Linked DNA regions of Homo sapiens: region 2 is linked to region 1. Evidence: promoter capture Hi-C in 16 types of primary human blood cells and fetal thymus (Javierre and others, 2016). All regions are on one chromosome and are shown on one strand. Each heading gives the region's core, a stretch centred on a gene start or on the middle of the fragment in contact. The rest is flanking DNA. Distances are from core to core; before and after follow the strand shown. Region 1 holds the start of ADISSP (adipose secreted signaling protein). Region 2 has its middle 60 kb from the start of SMOX.

The links. Contacts are between HindIII fragments. The CHiCAGO score rates a contact against its expected background, and 5 or more counts as called.
Region 2: a fragment that was not itself captured here is called in contact with the fragment with the promoter of ADISSP in region 1 in 2 of 17 cell types (total CD8 T cells and total CD4 T cells); the score reaches 5.5 in total CD8 T cells.

Annotation. Positions count from the first base shown.
Region 1 is chr20:3,766,330-3,769,818 of GRCh38, forward strand. ADISSP (adipose secreted signaling protein) reads right to left here and starts at 1,424. Exons shown (of 6, transcript NM_001258429.2): 1 at 1,334-1,424. RefSeq lists enhancers at 569-1,333, 1,461-2,047, 2,709-2,758 and a silencer at 1,319-1,558. The HindIII fragment of the contact is 5,584 bases long and covers 1-3,489 here.
Region 2 is chr20:4,087,561-4,091,078 of GRCh38, forward strand. No RefSeq gene overlaps it. Among named protein-coding and RNA genes, the nearest start is that of SMOX, 60 kb to the right of the region's middle. The HindIII fragment of the contact is 6,501 bases long and covers 1-3,518 here.

The DNA of each region.
Region 1 (3,489 bases), core at 174-2,673:
GTTGTGGCAGCTTCACATCAACTCAGCTTTAATGTGATTTAATTTCCTTCTCCCTCCAGTGGGCCAAAGGTGCAAAGATAAGTATGGCTGTTCTCTCTCCTTCTAACAGTGAGGTGCTGGGGGTGGGGGTGGGGGAATATGGAGAAGGGACCCTCACCACCCACACCTTCCTGCCTCCCCAACAAGTGCTGCCCTCCTCTGCCCAGCATTCTCCCCACTTTGCCCTCAGCTAGTGGGTGCTTAGCCTCCAGATAGCATGCCCCACCTAGGCCCTGCCCTGGGCCTGTGATCCAGAGGTCCCAAGAAGCAGAGGCCAGGCTGGATCCAGGGGGTCAGCCAAGGTGAGGGTGGGAGCACACAGGATTATCTCCCAGGGACAGGGCTGCTGCCTCGTAGCTCAGGATGGATAGAATGTGGGGGGATATCCAGCTACATTTTCCCTCCACAAAAGACCAGAATGGGAGAGGGATGGGGTGCTGCCCCGACTTTCTTCAACTCCCCGGAGCAGAAAAATGCCCTACCTCCACTTTCCAGTGCCAAGATTCAAGAAGAAAGGCAAGCGGAGACTTCCCTTTCTCAGTCCCTGCTTACTAATGGAAACACGGGTCCAGAACCTAAATCCAGTCCCTCCTCCTTCATACCACCGGGAGGGAGGTGCAGCCCAAGCCCCCGAGGCCCCAAGGGTCCAGGTGTAGGACCCTTTATCCTCTCCGGCAGCCATCCCTGTGGGTGTGGCACCCCCGCCACACCCCATTCTTGTCATCTCAGGGGGAGGGGGGAAATGTAATCGGACATCCCCCCCATCCAATCCATCCTGAGCTGCGAGGCGGCGGCTCTGTCCCTCGGAGATAATCCTGTGCACTCCCCACCTTCACTCACCTCGGCTGACGCAGGAGTCTCCGGAGCCCGCACTCCCAGACATCACTGCCCTCCTTCCTGAGGGTGCTGAGGCTCGGAGGCTCAGAGATGCTACTGGTCCAAGGTCATGCAGCGAGGCAGCGGCAATGAACAGGGTCGTGGGGAGGAGGGGGCGCTGACCCCATTACGCCCCCGCCCTCACTACCGCACTCATGCCCCCGGACAATCGCTTCGCGGAAAACACCCCAGCTGCACCAGCTAACGGTCACTGCGCCCCGGGAACCTGACATCACTCTAGTTCAGGTGCTGGGGAGTCCTCCAGGCCCGGCCCCGACAGCGGAGCCCCCCACCCCAGCCCTGCCATCACGGCCGCTGGGGTCCCAGGCACTGACTGCTCAGGACAGGGCCGGGACCGGGAGGGGACCTCGGCGAACGGGAAGGAACCGGGAGGCAGGGAGCAGAGGGGTGGCCTCACCTTGCGGGGTGCACCCCGGGGCCGGGGAGGGCAGGGACGACCACTGCAGCGGCGGCGGCTGCAGGAGCTCAACGCCGAGCACGAGGAAGGGAGCCCCGCGCCGCGGCCGCCCTCCCGTCGGCACGCCCCCGCCTCCGCCCATTGGTTGATCTGGGAGGGTGGGGCGAGGGACGCTCCGGACCAATGAGCGGGCTCCAAAGAACGGCCAACTGGCGAGGGCCGCCTACGTCACGTGCCAGGGTCGCCGAGGCAGCGCCCTGCTAGTCCGCGCCTGCCGGGCGAGCTCTCGCGAGGAAGACGGGCAGGCGGCCCAACTAGGCCAGGGGCCAGAACCGACCACTCGAAGAGGGAGAAGGAGGGCCTCGGATAGGCCCCGCCCCCGCTCCTTCTTCCGCCTGGGGGATAGCGCCTCTAGCCTTGAACCTTGCTTAGGACGCACCTCCCTTGGGCCCTTCGCTCTCGGGAGGGCTGTCGGGCGCGTCTCGGGGCTGGGTGGAGCTCCCGAAGGTGGCCTTTCTCCCTGGGCTTCCACGCCGGCTTCGGCCATCGATACGGGCCGTGTTGGTCTCGTTCAGGAGCTGAGGAACCCTCCATCACTCCTGTTTCGACCCCAGGGTTTGGACCTCTTCCCCTTCCACCCCATCCCCTGTCTCGAAAGAAGCAACCCCCGTGCGGGCCCGAGACGCGTCCCGGGTGCCTGGCCCGGCCTGGAGAAGCATCAGAACAAAGAAGGCACGCGGGCTGGGGGCTGGGAGAGCCTGTGACGCGCCCCCGGGGACCGCAGCCTCTGCTCCCGGTCTCCATGGAGGCGGTCGCCATGGCAGCGAGATGCGCCTCGCTCAGCACCGCGGGGTGGGATGTGGGCGCCTGCAATGAGCCGAGGAGCGAGAGGCGTGGCCCTCCGGTCTGCGGGGGTTCTTGCCGGTGCTCTCCGCCCGCCGGTTCGCGAACACCCCACCTATACTTCGCCCGTGGGGACGGATTCCCCAAAGTGCCCTCAGTAAGCCGTCCGGAGCACGCAGCGCCTTGCTTCCAACGGAACTAGAGAGACGGCCTGGGCGGCCGAAGGCCAGCCTCCCTTCAGCAGGGCCGGGGTCGCTGCCTTAAAGGAGCCCTCAAGTCTGCCACCCTGTGGCCCATAACCTGTCTGCTGATCTCCAGTCTGCACACTGTTGGCAAATTAATCTTTCTGAGCTCTTGTTTTCATCGCGTCCCTCTCCTGCTCCAAAGCCCTCTGGGACTGCCTCCAGTAGCGCTTCACAAACTTCAGCAGCACTTTGGGTGACTCATGTGCCCTCGCGTTTGAGAGACAGCGCTTACATTGAGAGCTTTTCACATTCTGATCTCAGCCCATCCACTCCTGCCCACTCTACCCACTCCCACCACACTACCTTTAGACCTTGTCTTGAAAGTCTAAAGTTGGCAGACGGTGGGCCCAAAGTGGCCCGTAGGTGTATTTTGTTTAGCTCACATGGGGCTTTTTAAAAGAAGTCCTTCCCCCTCCTGCCTCCTCCGCCTCTTTCTGGAATCAGGAATCTGGTTTCGTGGCTTTTGAAATATCAGAAGATCTGACAACATGGGCTCACTTTCCAGCCTGGCATTACAAGCCCCTTTAAGAGCACATAAATTTACCATAGTCCCCGCTAATCCCTGTTTCTCACGGTTAGTTACCTTCTGGGTCTGTGCAGACATTTGTGATCCCCTCCCCCTCATTATCCCACCTTCCAACCTGGAAGGCCCTCCCCGCTCTCTTCTCATAGCCAAAATTCAAGCCCTCTTCAACCAAGATAAGTTTTGCCTATTTATTTATTTATTTATTTTTGAGACAGAGTCTCACTCTGTCGCCCAGGCTTGAGTTCAGTGGTGCCATCTCGGCTGACTACAGCCTCCACCCCCTCCCCCGCCGGGTTCAAGCCATTCTCCTGCCTCAGCCTCCCAAGTAGCTGGGATTCTAGGTGCGCGCCACCACACCCAGGGCTAATTTTTGTATTTTTAGTGGAGACAGGGTTTCACCATGTTGGTCAGGTGGGTCTCAAACTCCTAGCCTCAAGTGATCTGCCTGCCTCAGCCTCCCAAAGTGCTGGGATTACAGGCATGAGCCACCGCGCCTGGCCCAAGCCTGCCTTTTTCAAAAGTCTTTCTAGCCAACTTCTCAA
Region 2 (3,518 bases), core at 764-3,263, 320 kb after region 1:
CTCTTTTTGGCCCTGGGAGGGAGTGGTTCACAAAAGAAAAAGAAAATTACAATAGTCCCCCACCTTATTGGCAATTTTGCATTCTGCGGTTTCAGTTAGATGCTGTCAATCACAGATTGAAAATATTGAATGGAAAAATTCCAGAAATAAATAATTCATGTTTTGGCCAGATGGGGTGGCTCACACCTGTAATCCCAGTACTTTGGTAGGCTGGGACGGGCAGATCACTTGAGGTCAGGAGTTTGAGACTAGCCTGGCCAACATTGTGAAACCCCTTCTCTACTAAAATACAAAAATTAGCTGGGCATGGTGGTGTGTGCCTGTAGTCCCAGCTACTTGGGAGGCTGAGGCAGGAGAATCGCTTGAACCTGGAAGGCAGAGGTTGCAGTGAGCCAAGATTGCACCCTTGCACTCCAGCCTGGGTGACAGAGTGAGACTCAGTCTCAAAAAAAAAAAAAAAAAGAAAAAGAAAAAGAAAAAGAAAACCAAAAAACAAAATGAGCAACTCCCATTTTAAATTGCCTGCCATGCTGAGTAGAGTGAATCATCCCTCTGTCCAGCACGTCCATGCTGCATATTCTTCCCGCTCATTAGTCACTTGGTAGCTGTCTTGGCTGTCAGATCAACTGCTGAGGTATCGCAGTGCTTATGTTCAGGTAACCCTTACTTCATTTAATAACGACCCCTGGATGCAAAAGTGGTGATGCTTAACATCATCACAACATAATTATTATTAACAATAATAACTGAGAATAAAATAGAACAGTTGTTATAATTGTTCTATTTTATTATCAGTTATTATTGTTAACCTCTTAACTGTGCTTAATTTATGCATTATACTTTATGGTGGATATGTACATATAGAAAAATCCATAGTATGTATAGGGTTTGGTACTATCTGCGGTTTCAGGCATCCACTGGGGGTCTTGAATGTATCCCCTGCAAATAAGGGGGGGGACTAGCGTTTCTGTCTTCACCAGGCCTAGATGTGTCTTGCCTGCCGAGGAAAGATGTATAGTTAAGATGTGACAATTATCTGTCAGTTGGTGGAGTTTCACCCACTTAGTTGGTCTTCTTACTGTATTTTGAGATATCTTTATTTACAGGAGGCAAAATAGAGGTCCTGGGTCAGTCCTCAGCCCTCCACCCCCAGCCTTTATGCCTAGGAGACTTTGAGTTGATGGGGAAAGATGGTTTCTGCCCTTGGGGGACCCACACAGGGTCCTTAGTATAGAGCCTGGCGCTCCACAGGGACCCGGTATTGAATATGGGATGGAGAGGAGCAAAGAGATCCTGCCAGGGAGGTTGTAGGAAGATCAATGGGTCACAGAAGCTACAGAAGGGCACACAGTAAGGCCGTGAGAGTGGGTAAAAAGGAGTGTGGGAGCTCTCACCTGCTCTGTGCTGGGATGTGGGTACTGGTCTCCTGGGAGTGAGCAGTTGGGCCCTCACCCAGTTGGAGGGCCCAACCACAACCACGGCAAATCCCAAAGGCCAGGAACAGGGACTAATGTGGGGTCCAGGGATAAAAGCAGATTTCTGAGATACAGAAAGCCCAGGGTCTGGCCTAAGGGGCAGCTGATATGCCCAAGAGCAAGTTCAAGGGCAGAGCAAGTTCGAGTGTACTGCAGACAGCCTTGGGACAGGGACATCCAATTTCATGGGCCAAGGAGAACAGTGGAAAGTCCAGGTAGTCAGGAGCCCTTGAAAGTCTAGAGGGTGGTGGGCTTGGTTGGGATGTGGATGGACATATATATATATGTATATACATATATACACACACACCATGGTGTGTGTCTGTGTGTGTATATATATATATGTGTATATATATATACACACACATACCTGATATGTTATACCTGACATATGTTATATACATACATACATATACATATATACACACACATATATATATCTGATGGTTTTATATATATAGGGAGGTGTGTGTTTGTGTGTGTGTGTGTATATATATATGTGTATATATATGTGTATATATATGTGTATATATATGTATATATATGTGTATATATATGTGTGTGTATATATGTATATATGTGTGTATATATGTATATATGTGTATATATGTATATATATGTGTATATATATGTGTATATATATGTATATATATGTGTGTATATATATGTATATATATGTGTGTATATATATGTGTATATATATGTGTGTGTGTGTGTGTGTGTGTGTATATATATATATATATATATATATCAGTTTGCCCTTGCTGGATAACAAACCACCCCAGAACTTACTGGCTTAATGCATTAACCATTTATTATTTCTCTAGGCTTTTGCAATCAGATGCTGGGTTGGCTGGAAGCTGGCTGGTATAGCGTGGCCATGCAGCAGGCTAGTCTAGGCTTAGTCACATAGTGATTGCAGGGTTTCAGGAAAACAAATGAAAACATGCAAGATCTTATAAGGTCTTTACTTGGAACTGACAGACTGTCACTTCTGCCAAACTCTTTTGGTCAAACAACTCTCAAAGCCAAGCCTCACTTGAAAGAGTTTGGGAAAAAGTTCTGATTCTTTTGTTTGTTTGCTTTAGAGACAGGGTCTTGCTCTGTCACCCAGACTGGAGTGCGGTGGCGTAATCATAGCTCACTACAGCCTCGAACTCCTGGGCTCAAGCAGTCCTCGCAGCTCAGCCTCCCGAGTAGCTGGGACTACAGATGTGAGCCACAGCACCTGGCAAAGTTCTGCTTCTTGATGAGAGATGTTACTAAATCATATTGCAAAGGGAGGGGTGGAGAATTGCGGCCATTTTTGCAATCAATCTAACGCAACACCCACTTGTGAAAGACAGAAACCTGGGTGACATCCTGAGTCCTTCCTCCCACTTCTCCGACATCCGTTACCTCACCAAGCCAATTTGATTTTCACCCCCCAAAACGCCATTCAACTTTTCCTATTGCCACCACCCCAGTCCAAGGAACTTGTCTACCTGGTCTACTCACATTTGCTGTAGCTGTGCTCTACTATCGTGGCCACATAGCAGCCTATAGGACTTCTTCAAAGTACAAGCCAGGTCCCATCATTTCTCCCTGCCCATACCCTTCAAAGACTCTGTATTAGTCCATTCGCAGTTGCAAGCAGAAGAAACAGGCTCTGATTATGGCAAAAAAAAACACAAAAAAACAAAAAACCTAATGGAAGGGTATTGATTAGCTCACAGAATATCTTGAAGACTGGACCCAGAAATCACGCAGGCACCAAAGGTAGCAGCTGGATAGCCAAGACCACGATGAAAACCATGCTGCTGGAACATCTGGGGGACACTGTGGCCATCACCACCATGTAGCCAGGCCCCAGGATGCTGCTGCTGCCACCACTGCCAGGATGAATAGTTCACTGTCCTTGGCTTCTTGTATCACTCACTACAGGCTCAAAGAGCTGGGTGGAAGCATCTGATTGGCTAAGCCTCCAGTTTCCATTTCATTTCTGTGCTGACTCGGTCAGTGGAGGATTCCTAGGAATTCCCAGGATGAGGAAAGATGCTGGAA